Linked DNA regions of Homo sapiens: region 1 is linked to region 2. Evidence: promoter capture Hi-C in human tissues and cell types (Jung and others, 2019). All regions are on one chromosome and are shown on one strand. Each heading gives the region's core, a stretch centred on a gene start or on the middle of the fragment in contact. The rest is flanking DNA. Distances are from core to core; before and after follow the strand shown. Region 1 overlaps CCBE1 (collagen and calcium binding EGF domains 1). Region 2 holds the start of CCBE1 (collagen and calcium binding EGF domains 1).

Evidence for each region. Contacts are between HindIII fragments. The study calls those that stand out against the background at their distance.
Region 1: a fragment that was not itself captured here is called in contact with the fragment with the promoter of CCBE1 in region 2 in 2 of the 25 tissues and cell types used here (aorta and thymus).

What each region holds. Positions count from the first base shown.
Region 1 is chr18:59,435,658-59,441,766 of GRCh38, forward strand. CCBE1 (collagen and calcium binding EGF domains 1) reads right to left here. Exons shown (of 11, transcript NM_133459.4): 8 at 4,020-4,159; 9 at 3,886-3,921; 10 at 2,454-2,489; 11 at 1-484. The coding sequence ends at 251. Among named protein-coding and RNA genes, the nearest start is that of LMAN1, 79 kb to the left of the region's middle. The HindIII fragment of the contact is 7,625 bases long and covers 1-5,325 here.
Region 2 is chr18:59,691,738-59,698,700 of GRCh38, forward strand. It overlaps CCBE1 (collagen and calcium binding EGF domains 1), which reads right to left and starts at 5,686. Exons shown (of 11, transcript NM_133459.4): 1 at 5,475-5,686; 2 at 4,892-4,972. The coding sequence starts at 5,605. It also overlaps the pseudogene ACTBP3. The HindIII fragment of the contact is 11,314 bases long and covers 1-6,963 here.

The DNA of each region.
Region 1 (6,109 bases), core at 263-2,762, 260 kb before region 2:
GCAAACCACCCCAATGGACTCTTAGTGAGAAGCAGGTAAATCAATCATTCACTCCCTCATGTCTGCAGGCCTAGGAGGGGACTCTGAAAATAGCATCGTATTTGGAAGAAGAGGAGTGGAGAGACGTCAGGAGAAGAGAAGAGAAAAATGTATGTTTTCTAGGTCTCCAGTGGTCTTTCTTCTCTTTAGATGGTTTAACTGCAGGTGAGTTGATCTTTCTCTTCCTTTGGCGTGACGGTGTTGGGATGTGCTATGGGTAGAAGTCTCTGGGGGCTCTCAAGTCTCTTGTCTCAGTTCTTCTTGGATGGTCATCTCCAGAGCCCAGGTCCATGGCTTCTGGGTAGCTGGGAAATTCCTGAGGTAAAGGGAACTCCTCTGCTGAAGAGTGAGTCCGGTGCCCGAACACCTTTTCCTGCAGCTCAGTGATGTCATTGCGGATGTCAGCCAGCATAAGTAGCAGGAAGTCGAAAGAACCAGGGGGTCCCTGTGTACATGGGAGGAATCAAAGCTAGAATACGACAGACAGCAATGGCCTCCGGGGCTCCATGACTTGACCTGCTGCTTGCTGGCAACTACTTTCTCAATAACTCTGTGCCCCAAATGGAGCCAATGTGAGGACTGCTACAGGAGCCTGGGGGTCCTCCATATTGTTTTCTAATTCTGTCACTTCTCAGCTGAGCTTTGGTGATGTATTCACCTTTCCTCCCTCCTAACGCTTTATCAAATCCAGTAGAGGAAAGGATATAAGAATAACTCTCCTAGGTTACTTTCCAAAGCAGTCTGGAAGATGCTTATGAAGGCAGCAGAGCAGTGGTTAAGAGACTGGGGTTCTGTTGGATTTGAATCTCATCTCTGCCGCTTACTAGCTGTGTCATCTTAATTTCTTGTGGTTCAGTTTCCCCATCTGTAAAACGGGGATAATAATAGTCCCAACTTCATAGGGTTTTGTAGGATTCATAAGTGAGGATTTAAGCAAGTAAATACGTGTAAAGGGCTTTGAGCATAATACGTATTCAAAAATGTTATCTGGGCCAGGTGTGGTGGCTCACGCCTATAATCCTAGCACTTTGGGAGGCCGAGGTGGATGGATAGCTTGAGCCCAGGAGTTCAAGACCAACCTGGAAAACATGGTGAAACCCTGTCTCTACAAAAATTTAACAAAAATTTAGCCAGGTGTGGTGGTGGGCACCTGTGGACCCAGCTACTTGGGAGGCTAAGGTGGGAGGATCACTTGAGCCCAAGAGGTCGAGGCTGCAGTGAGCCAAGATTGTGCCACTGCACTCCAGCCTGGGTGACAGAGTGAGACCCTGTCTCAAAAAAAACAATGCTGTTATTTTTTAAAAGCAAAATTATTAAAATGTTTATAAGATGGCTGACTATAAGCACAAACTAAATGAAGTTGAGAGGATGTTGTAAAGACGTCAACTCCTCGTTGACTAGGAAAGGTCCAAACAAAATCTTCCTAATTTTTCTATGTATTGAGTATCCTTTATCATCATATAGTATTTACTAAGCCTTAATTTCATATAGCGCTGTGTGGGGCATGGTAAAAAAGAAATGCACAAACACGCATGTTCTGGGCTTGTCAGAAGCTTGTAGTAAAATCGTTATCATCTCCCGCAACTGCTGCTACAGCAGCGGGCACCGTGGAAGCAGAGCTTACACCGTAAAGCACTAAGAGAGGCACAGTATTTTCATATCATTTGACCCTCACAGTAGCCACTTCAGGGATGGCAGGTCAGATTCCACTATCGCCACTGCACAGTGGGGGGCAAGAATGCCCAGAGACCCTCAGTGAAGTGCCCGTGGTCAGAAAGCCAGCAGGTAGAAGAGTTGAGATGGGAACCCACGACTCCTACCTCTGTGGCCACAGCCGCTGGATTTCAGAAATGATACTTCTTCAGAAGCAGTGACGTGGTTTGAATTTTCTATGCTTTTGAATACTACTATTTCTCATTTTTAATCTCCCAGATACTATGCTTATATGCAGCTAATTTCTTCTCAGGTCCTAAACAGCCCTGCGTGGTTTTGCACTTTTTAAGAGGAGATGGCCATCTGGCCTGCTAGGGTTGCAGCAGTGGCTAAATTCTCAAGTACGCAGAGTTATGATTTAAACCCATAGATTTCCTTCCTAGACCTTTCAAATGTTTTATGATAATACTTGGAAACAGACTCATGGCATAGCAGGGTTTTGAGCTTTAGGAAAGACATTTCAAATAAAGATTAGCCATGATAAAAGAGAAAACAGCAACAGAAAACAAATTTGAAAAATAAATCCAAACTAGCAGCTAAGGGCTTCTATGACTCTCTTCCTAACCACAGAGTTCTGTTCAGGTGGGCTGAGTGGCATCAGGAAGGGGCGGGCTTTTGCTACTAGACCAACCTATAGGCTCATCAGAGCTGCATCCCTGAGAACGTTCCCCTGGGGAAGCAGGACACAGAGTGCTACTTACTGGAGACCCTCTGGGCCCAGGCGCTCCTCTCTCCCCCTAAAAACAGAAAGGCCAGGGTTAGCTTTCTAGAGCACATGGATATCACAAGAATAGTCTCTATTTATACACCCACCATAACCACTTCCCTGCACAAAACAATAAACATTTTCTATAGAAAACATATGTAAAACTGAGCTGGACTCACGGGACCACTTATTTGAACAGGACTGCTTGGGTCAAGTGTCTCTCATTCTGATTTCCCTCAAGCCCATCTATTTTCAAACCTTCTTGGCAAGAGGAATGTTCATATTTCCCAACAGCATGTGGAGTAACAAACTTTCTGAAGTAACTCACACTGACTTCTTTGTGAGGCAAAAAAGAGCAGGCAGCTCTCAGAGGGGAACCACCCTGCTTGCAAAAAGAATGGAGCATCTCCTGTTCCTGAGAAATCTCACAGAAATGGAAACACACAAAAAGCTATCCCGTAAAGCAACACTGGTTAAAGAGAAAAACACATGTGAGAATCACAACACAGAGGCTCATTTAAAATTTACAGGGGTCACTTTTCCTATGAGTGGTTGTGGTGGTTGTTTTTGTCTTTGGGGTTGGTTTTGGAATTGAAGACAATGGCTTTTCAGATTTTGTTCCCAGCTTTGGGGAAAAAGTTCTATCTGGTATCTGTGTCTCACTTCTGCTGCATGCAAAATGGGGTTGGTAAACAGTGTCTGGTGAGCTTTCCTGGATGTCAGTGCAAGAGGTAGAAAGTGAGAGACCTTCAGGCCGGGAGCGGTGCCTCACACCTGTAATACCAGCACTTTGGGAGGCTGAGACGGGCAGATCACCTGGGGTCAGGAGTTTAAGGCCAGCCTGGGTAACATGGCGAAACCCCGTCTCTACTAAAAAATCCAAAAATTAGGCCGGGTGTGGTGGCTCACGCCTGTAATCCCAGCACTTGGGGAGGCCGAGGTGGGCGGATCACGAAGTCAGGAGATGGAGACCATCCTGGCTAACACGATGAAACCCTGTCTCTACTGAAAATACAAAAAAATTAGCCAGGTGTGGTGGCGGTCGCCTGTAGTCCCAGCTACTCGGGAGGCTGAGGCAGGAGAATGGCGTGAACTCGGGAGGTGGAGCTTGCCGTGAGCTGAGATCGTGCCACTGCACTCCAGCCTGGGTGACAGAGTGAGACTCTGTCTCAAAAAGAAAAAAAAAGAAAAATCCAAAAATTAGCCGGGAGTGGTGGTGCACACCTGTGGTCCCAGCTGCTTGGGAGGCTGAGGCGGGAGAATTGGGCTTGAGCCAGAGAGGCAGAGGCTGTAATGAGCCAAGATTGTGCCATTGCACTCCAGCCTGGGTGACAGAGCAAGACCATCTCAAAAAACAAAAACAAAACAAAACAAAAAAATCGAAAGTGAGAGACCTTTAGCTTGTGAGGACCACTCATAAGGCTTACCTTAGAACCATCTCTTCCTGGTGCCCCTGGTGGACCCTGTAATACAAAAGGATCTGGTTTAACCACAGGCAAAAGCATGGGACAAAAACACATTTTCCCCCAAAAAGGAAGTGGATCTCTGATAAGATACTGACCACAGGGCCCCTCCGGCCTTGCTTAATGTGGGACAGATCAGGAGATGGTCCCATGGGTCCCATTGAGCCCCGTGGGCCGGGCTGCCCAGGAGGGCCTGGCATACCGGGGAAGCCTGGGCTTCCCTTTGGTCCTGGTGAGCCTGTAATCAAAGAACACCTCATTAGCTCACAGCACATGAGAAGGACAAAGGGCCCTGGCTAACAAGAGTCCAGGACCCCTGCAGCCATTTCTCTTTGTACTCTCTCTGCCTTTGCCTTCTGACATCTCCATCAGGCTGTCCCACAGGCATTTTAAACTTGATACGATCAAAAGCGGCTTCCCCATCTTCCTCTCTTTTCGCGGACTGCCAGTCATACATCCACTCAAGCCAAAAACTGGAGAGTCTTCCTCTATATTTCCCTGTTTCTGCAACCTCCTTTTTGAATCAGTGGCCAGCTCCTGTGCATTTTACCTCTTTAACATCTCACAGCTGTCTGCTCCCTTCTATCCACTGGATCACAGCAGAGTAGTGGCCACCACCACAGAGAAGTGGTGATCATGGCTGGAGAGCAGTACAGGTTTTAGCATCAGGGAGACTTGGGTTTGAATCTGACAAGTTGCCTGAGCCATCTGAGCTTTAGTTTCTCATCTCATCTGTAAAAGTGGGCTAATAAAAATCTTCCTTATGGAGTAGTTGCATTACATGAGATTTCAGATATATACACAGCACTTAGTATAGTACTTCACACATAGTAAGTACTAAAACATCTGCTAGGCCTTCCTTATATTTGCTTTGACTCTTGCCTCATTGCTAGTCTTTCTGCCCCGAACCAGTCTTTTCACCCCTTGCCCATTTTTGATATTTCTATAGGGATGACACATCTAAAACAAGTCTTACTATGTAACCCACCTACTTTCAACCTTCTGGTGCAAATGTCTCAAGGCACTCGGTGGGTCAGCAAACTCACTCTCTCTTGCAGGCCCCAGAGAAATATCCCTTACTTCTTAGTGAGGGGTAGGAAATGTTCTTCTGGCTAAGATTTGCCACAGGTACAAGGCATGCTGGGGGATGAGTTGGGGGATATGGGGAAGATCATCTCACCCCAAGGCCCAGAAGCATAGGTCATGCTTAGGATTGCAGCTGGAGCAGGAGAACTGAAAATGTCCCGTTGCCCCACAACTCTAGCATGGAGTAAGTAATAGCAATCTACAGTGTGGGGAGAGAACCCCTCTGTGGCACAGGTGTGTGTGTAGGGGCTGCTGAAAGCTCAGAGTATAAACACTGAGAAAAATCCACTGGTAACCTAGGCCTCCACTAAGCATAAGGTAACAGCATCCTTCCATTGGAGGAATTATTTGAAGACTGTGGAACACAAAGTAAATATAGTGACAATAAAGCCAAAACCCAGCTCAGTTATTCATTAGGTTGACTTAGCTTCCCATGGCAGTGGCCTGACAAAAGAAGAGAGTACCCATCTCCAGGAGTGATAACCATGTGCCTCAGTCTCTACTGTTTCTCTGCAAATGATGTCTGGCATTCAATCCAAAATTTTCAGACATGGAAAGAAAAGGGCTGGGCACAGTGGCTCATGCCTGTAATCCCAGCACTTTGGGAGGTTGAGGCGGGTGGATCACCTGAGGTCAGGAGTTCGAGATCAGCCTGGGCAACATGGTGAAACCCCATCTCTACTAAAAATACAAAAATTAGTCAGGTGTGGTGGTGGGTACCTGTAATCCCAGCTACTCAGGAGGCTGAAGCGGCGGTTGCAGTGAGCTGAGATTGTACCACTGCAGTCCAGCCTGGGTGACAAAGCGAGACTCCATCTCAAAAAAAAAAAAAAAATCAAAACAAAAAAACACATTGTCAAGTAATAGAACAATCAGCAGGACAAGCCTCAGAGGGGACCCAGATGTTGGAATAATGAGATATGGGCTTTAAAATAACAGCATGTGAACGGTGCTGTTGGAAAAGATAAACAGTGTGTCTGAGCAGATGAGGGATTTCAGCAGAGAGATGGAAATTAAAGGAAAAAGTCAAATGGAAATGAAAAATATAATATCATGTATGAAAACAATATAGGCTCATCAACAGACTGCTCCCAGCTGAGCA
Region 2 (6,963 bases), core at 4,436-6,935:
TGAACTACATGCCCTGAATGAGCCAAGTCTTCACAGAGCTGCCCTCAGTACCCGGCCTCAGCTATGCCAGCCACAGGACAGGGAAACAAGCAGAGGAGAGAGAAATCAGAATGGGCCTGGGGCTAAGGATCTGATTTCTAGTCTTCCTTCTGCCAGTAAGACCCTTCATAATCCTGGGGAAGGGATGAAAGTGGTGTAACTTCAAGTTCTAGTTCAGGCTATGCCTTCCACTGGCTCTTATGGTCATGAGTAGAGTAGCTTGTTAGTCAGGGAGGTAGCAGGAAACAAAGATACTCTAATTTCCCCAGGGCACTAGGTTTCTGGGCTCTCCTACATTTGAAAATAGCATCTGCAAACGAGTGATGTTTCTGGCTGTGGTCTCAAATTGCTCTTTCAAAAAGATGAAGTTCATACGACTCACAAAATTCAACAAACATCCATTGAGCATCTAAAACATTCAACATGCAGACTTGGCAAGATGTAGTGATGACGATGGGAGGTATTACTAACATAGCACTTCCTATGTGTCGTGAATTTTTCAAAGCATTTTACATGTATTAAGGCACAATCCTCACAGCAGCCCTATAGTTTAAGTACCAATTGGATGCTCATTTTACAGATGAGAAAATTAAAGCACAGATATTAAAACTGCTCAAGGTCACAAAACCACCAAGTAGTAGAGCTGGGATTCACACTGGAGCAAAGAGTTTATATTATTTTATATGTGTTTTGACATTATCGAAGCCCACTCCCCCGCCATGGGAACTTGGTGACTTGCCAGAGAAGTGCATTATACAGTCTTTCCTCAAATGTGTCCTTACCTAGAGCCCAATGCTATCAATCTGGTAGTACTATTCTAATTAAAAGGACCTTGCTCTTCAAAGCACTCCAAGTAAACACATTTGCAAAAACATCACATTAATTTTCACATTCTCACAAGACTTGGCAACACAGTTGTATTATCTCAAAGAAAAGTGGGTGTTTTACATCCCCCATGTCACTATTTCCCATGGGAACATTGAGCTGCCCTAAGCAAGAACACTGCCTCATGAGACAGCACGGGCTGGACAGATGAATACCGGCAGGGCAGAGAGGCACCTGGGGCATCCCTACCACTTAGCCTCCACGTGGAGTTCCATGAACCCCAAAGCCAAAATCACAGCGAGTTTTTAAAAAGCATTTAACACACAGTTAAAAGAACCACTTTGTCAAGCCAAAGCACACACACACACACACACACACACACACACACACACACACACACACAAACAAAAAACGCAAAGCCAAACCTATCTCATCTTGTTTTCTGTGGTGAAGGTGATGGCAGTCAGTTGGAGCGAGCATACCCTAAAGCTCTACAATGTGGCCAAGGACTTTGACTGTACATTGTTCTTTTTTTTAAATAATCATTCCAAATATTGCGAGATGCATTGTTGCAGGAAGTCCCTTGCCCTCCTAAATGCCACCCTACTTCTAAGAAGAATGGCTCAGTCCTCTCTGGAGTCCACACAGGGGAGGTGATAGCATTAGCATTGCTTTCATGTAAATTATGTAATGCAAAATTTTTTAAATCTTCTCCTTAAAACTTTGTTTCATTTGTGACCAGCTTTCATGGTCCCCCTTTTTTGTCCCCCAACTTGAGATGTGTGAAGGCTTTTGGTCTCCCTGAGAGTGGGTGGAGGCAGCCAGGGCTTAACTGTACACCAACTTGAGACCAGTTGACAAAAAGTGAACACTTTAAAAAAGGGGGAAAAAAAGAACCACTTTGAAGAACATGGTTAAATCTTCTTTTGCCCAAAAGCCATTTCTAGCTGCTTGTCTCTCTTCCCCATCACTAATACAGCATATGAACTACATGACTTTGAACTCAATCATACACCATTGCTTATTGCTCACAGTTTCAAAGTCCTGGATATAAAATCAAGTCTGCAAACTGAGACCAGAGATTGTATTTTATCGTTTTATACTCAAACATTTTCTAGGACTTTTCTGAGCTCGTAATAGATGCACAATAGATTCTTAATTAAGAAGTCAAGGGTTGATTAGGATGTTTATTCCACAGCCTCAGTGAAAATTGTTTTATTAGTGTTTCCTACACACGAGAATATTTCTTGTTAAAGGAAAGCCTTTTTTTTTTTTTTTTTTTTTTTTTTGAGACAGAGTCTTGCTCTGTCACCAGACTGGAATGCAGTGGCGAGATCTCAGCTCACTGCAACCTCCGCCTCCTGGTTTCAAACTATTCTCCTGCCTCAGCCTCCCAAGTAGATGGTACTACAGGTGTGTGCCACCACACCATGCTAATTTTTGTATTTTTAGTAGAGACGGGGTTTTATCATGTTGGCCAGAATGGTCTCGATCTCTTGACCTCATGACCCACCCACCTCCGCCTCCCAAAGTGCTGGGATTACAGGCATGAGCCACCGCACCCGGCCTAGTAACTTTTTTAAAGTCATTTTTAAACACACTTCAAGTTCAGAAGTGGCTTCCAGAGTTCCTTCACTTGTGCTGAAAACCATTCACCAACAGCCACCTGGTAAAGAGAATTCTATACAGTCAAAGAACATTCCATCATCAGTAATGCTGTATTACTTACAGCTCAATTCAAAGTAACCTTTAAAGACTGGCTTCCTGGAATGCTGGTTCTTTATCTCACTTTAGTTTAACCTTTAGTTTAGTGAGGTAGGAGAGCTAACTGTTTGGTCAACTGAAAGGCCTCCATGCTCCTTTAAGGATCTGTCTAAATAGGTCTGCATGCGTCCTGGGGATGAGGACACTGGTTTCTTACAGCAGTGCTTCAAGATTTTATGCATCTCTCATTAAGACAGATTCTGATTTAAGAGATCTGGGGGCAGAGGCCCAGGATTCCAACAAGCTCCCAAAATCATGCTGTGCGGCTGGTTTCCAGATGATACTTGAGGTAGTGAGGGTATAAAGGGCTAGGACAATCAAGTCACAAACTAAGGAAAATAATATCCTCTATTCTTGGGATTCAAGAAGAGTAGATTATAGAAACAGGATAAGACCAACGGAATACAGAGAACTCTCGACTTCCATAGAGAAAATAGATCTAAAAACAAAATCTAAGATCTTTTCATATACACAAGGATCAACACCACTTTCAAGCTGAAAGCATCGTTTCCCATTCCTTTAAACAAAGTTCTTTATTCTCCTTGATATAAAATGTCATTTTTGCGAGATCTCATAGCAATTTGAGTAGCTATTAGTGAAAACACATGCCAAGGTGCTGCTAGTGTCTCCTGTTCAAAGAGTATAAAAGAAACACCACACTGCTTTAAGAAGTCTGGAAAAGATGACAGTAATGGCATTAACAAACAATCAGGCACCAAATGGTTTCTGAAAATCTAACATGCATTCTGTAACTGTCACTGATTTATGTGAAGTCCGACCTTCAGGGACTGAAAAAATGAGCAAACCATCTCAGAGACATTTCCCATGTTAAATTCGAGGCTTTATACTGTGCTGATAGGAAAACAATGTGTCCTAAGAAACACTGTGGTCGTGTGGATGAAAGACACGGCTGGAACCAGGCAAGCAATCCTGCTGCCAGCACCACCAGGTCACTTCACCAGCTCGGTGACCTTGCTCACCCAGTTAGCCTCTTTAAGTCTTAACCTGCCAATTGAACATACTCCTTTCTCCTCTACTACCTCTCTCATTTTGTTCAGCATTCACCCCCCGCACACGCCAAGAGAAAGGAGCCTTTCCTAAGCCCAAGGAGTGACTTGATTTGCCTGATTATTGTCCCTTCACTGCCAACAACAGATTTAAGAGCAGAAGTACGCGATGTAACTGATGGTGCTTTTGCACCCATAAACTGACAGCCGTGGAACCACTTGGTCTGAACCTTTGGGTATATGAAATGCTCTCACCTGCAAGAAACGCTATGATTGATTCACAGGCTACAACCTTATAAGGAATAAAACATTGTTTTCTTTCAAGTTCGTTTCTAGGGACTGCTGCGTTACCTTGTACTACTCAGTATTTATCCTGGCAACCCGAACAGAGCATGTGAGTCTCCAGAGACAGTCAGGTGTGGGCATATGATCACATTACCTTGTACAGCGCCTCTAAAACGCAGATATCCAATAAACGTTTATGGGTGCATGTTCCCCTATCCAGTGAGAGCACTGGAACAGAACCAAGAATTCAATGGTGAAAAACCTAAATCAACCCTCATCTCCAAAAGGCTGCAAGCAGAACAGTGGTTCTCTCCTTTCAGAGACAAGAACCACCTGGGGAACATTTTATAACTACCGATTCCCTAGCCCCATCCACGCTTAGTTTTAACAAGCACCCGGGTCACTCATTTAACAAATACCCAGGTGAATCTGTGGCCCACATTTTTAGAAAGACTTTTTTCCTCTGCCCCAACAATCTTTTTGTTTTCACTCAACACAACCACTCACAATCCTCCCCCTACTTTTTTGTCCAGAGGCCGTGACAGCCACACTCTGCCCCAACAGAAGGTCAGAAGACAGACAAGTGCCAAGAATTGCCTTGTTGACGCTGTACTTTCAAAACAAAACACAAATACGAAAGCAGCCACCCGTGTTTGCTATGCCCCACTGTTTACACCCAAAATCCAATCCAATCTCCTTCACAGACTTCCACACAAGTATTTCAGGGAGCGGCAACCATCCTCAGGATCTCAGGGCACACACCCTAGACGCAAAGTCAGTTGCTCAGTGTTGCTCTGACTCCGATCCAACCAACCCTCAAAGATTCGCACCGCGCGGCACGCACCCAGCAGGTTCCAGCGTAAAAGCTGCTCCGGTCCCAAGCGCGTCTCCAAACCCCTCCTTTACAGCGCCGCCTCCCCAGCCAGCCCCGGTGCGCAGTGGCGAACAGCCCGCAGAGCCCCCAGGCTTACCTGTAGCATGTGGTGAGCTCGCCTGAAGACTTCAGACACGGGTATTTAGTCGTCGCGATTTTGCTCTCTGAGCAGATTTCTCTATGAAAAAGTGCAGAGGAAATGTTCGATTCTCAGCGGGAGAGCGGAGGCGGGCAGCGCGCGCTGGGGAATCCCTGGCGCGTGGGGATCGCCAGGCTCCCCGTCCCGGCGCTCTGGGCAGGGGCTGGTCCCCAAACGCGTACGCGGGGCAGACTCCGGCCACAGGGACGAGCCACGCGAGGGTCACGACGAAGCGAACCAGCTCCAGGAGAAAGGAAGCGGGGTTCACGAGCTGTGCCAGCCAGTGTGGCACCCGGGGGGAGGCAGGAACGCGGGGCGAAGGGTATCCCTGACGCGACCCACGGATGGCAGGGCGCAAAGGCTGATACCCGGGAGCGGAGGGAAGTGTCGCCCAGGACAGCTGAGCACTCTCCTTATCCCCGGAGAAGTGAGGGCGTGCGGATCGCTGTGGGAGTGGGCGCCGGGGAGGACCGCCCGCACCCCGCGAGCCGGGCGCGCATCAAGCAGGAGCTCGCCCTCCGCTGGGGCTTGCAGCGCTTACCTGTCGCCGTCCTCCGGCTCCTCTCTGTAGGTCCACGTGTGTCCCAACGCCAGGAGCAGCAGCAGCGGACCCAGGCTCCTGCCCAGCTGGCCCCTGGCAGCTCCTCCCCGGCTCGGAGGCGGCGGCACCATCAGGGAAGCTCCCGGCTTCTTCCCAGCGCCGAGCTCCGTCCGGACCAAGCGTCCTGCTCCTCCGCGGCCGCCGCCGCCTTCCCTCTTCCCGGCAGGGGGCGCCGGAGAGCAGGGGCGTTTGCACCACCTGCACGGGGAGCAGGGGTCCGGAATATTATGGGGCTGGGGGGAAAATGAGGCTAGGAGTTGGGGTATCGGATGCAAACCCAGCAGAGAAGCAGGTAAAGGGGGTACCTGCGGTGTCCGGCTGGCGCGAGGGCCCTGAGGTTCAAGTTGTCTCGTCGGGACGTTCACGTCCGATTGACAGACTTGCTGGACTCGGCTTGGGGCTGCGCCCTCGCCTCTTCCCTCTCCCTCCTCTGGGAGAAGCGCGCAGGGTGGGGAAAGCGGGCGGTTGTTTGCATTTTGCACCAGGGTCTCACGACCGGGAGGAGGAGGAGCTGATTCTCCACCGGGGAGAAGAGGGAGGGGGAAGAGAGGGGTTAATAAGCTTCCTTCCTGTTGTCCATGGGTTTCTAAAGCCCAGGGTCAGGCCAGTGTTCGTCTTTCCTCCGTGAGGACCTACCCTGAGATTTGCAACTATCTTAGTCTTCTTTTCTCTTAGATTATGTGAGGAAGGAGGAGTTGAAAGGCTACAACGGGCCTCTCAAATTGTTCAAACCTGAAATAGCGCTATTTATATAGTGTAATCACTCTTCCTTAAAACCTTTAGAAGAAAGTTCTCTGGTTGTTTCATTGGTCAATAAACCATGCGCTGTCTTCTTCATAACTCGAGTTCGGAACAAGTAAGGAGGTCTTTCTGGGAGCCTTACATCTCCTTGTCCTGAGCGGCTTTAATACTGTTTCCACGCCGCGCACATCAGAGCTGGAAACGCCCCCCCCCATCAAATGAGACACGTGGGGGCAAATTAATTACAGGTGCTGCTACCTGCTAGTGTATGCAGCCGCGTTGATAGGTAACAAGAAAACGGAGGAGGGGGGCCGTAAATCGGCTCCCTTGACGGTGACCCTAATTGTAATTCGTGTGTCAGCAACTTAACACTTTGTTGCGCTTTAGGAGTTTTCTCAGCCTTTTCCAGAGAAACTGGGGACGTGGATGTGGCCCAGAAATAAGTTGAAAAAGGAAAAGTTCTAATGCCTAAGCTCTAAAATATGCGTGGTTCTGCATCTCACAGGACAACGAGGTAAAAAGGTGGCTTGTTCACAAGTGACCGGTGTGTAAATTGGTTAGGTAAGCACATATTTTGATATACAGAATATGCTGGTCAACTGAGAATTACCACACATATCACATACACATTGACTTTTTTTTTTTTTTGAGACGGAGTCTCACTCTGTCGCCCAGGCTGGAGTGCAGT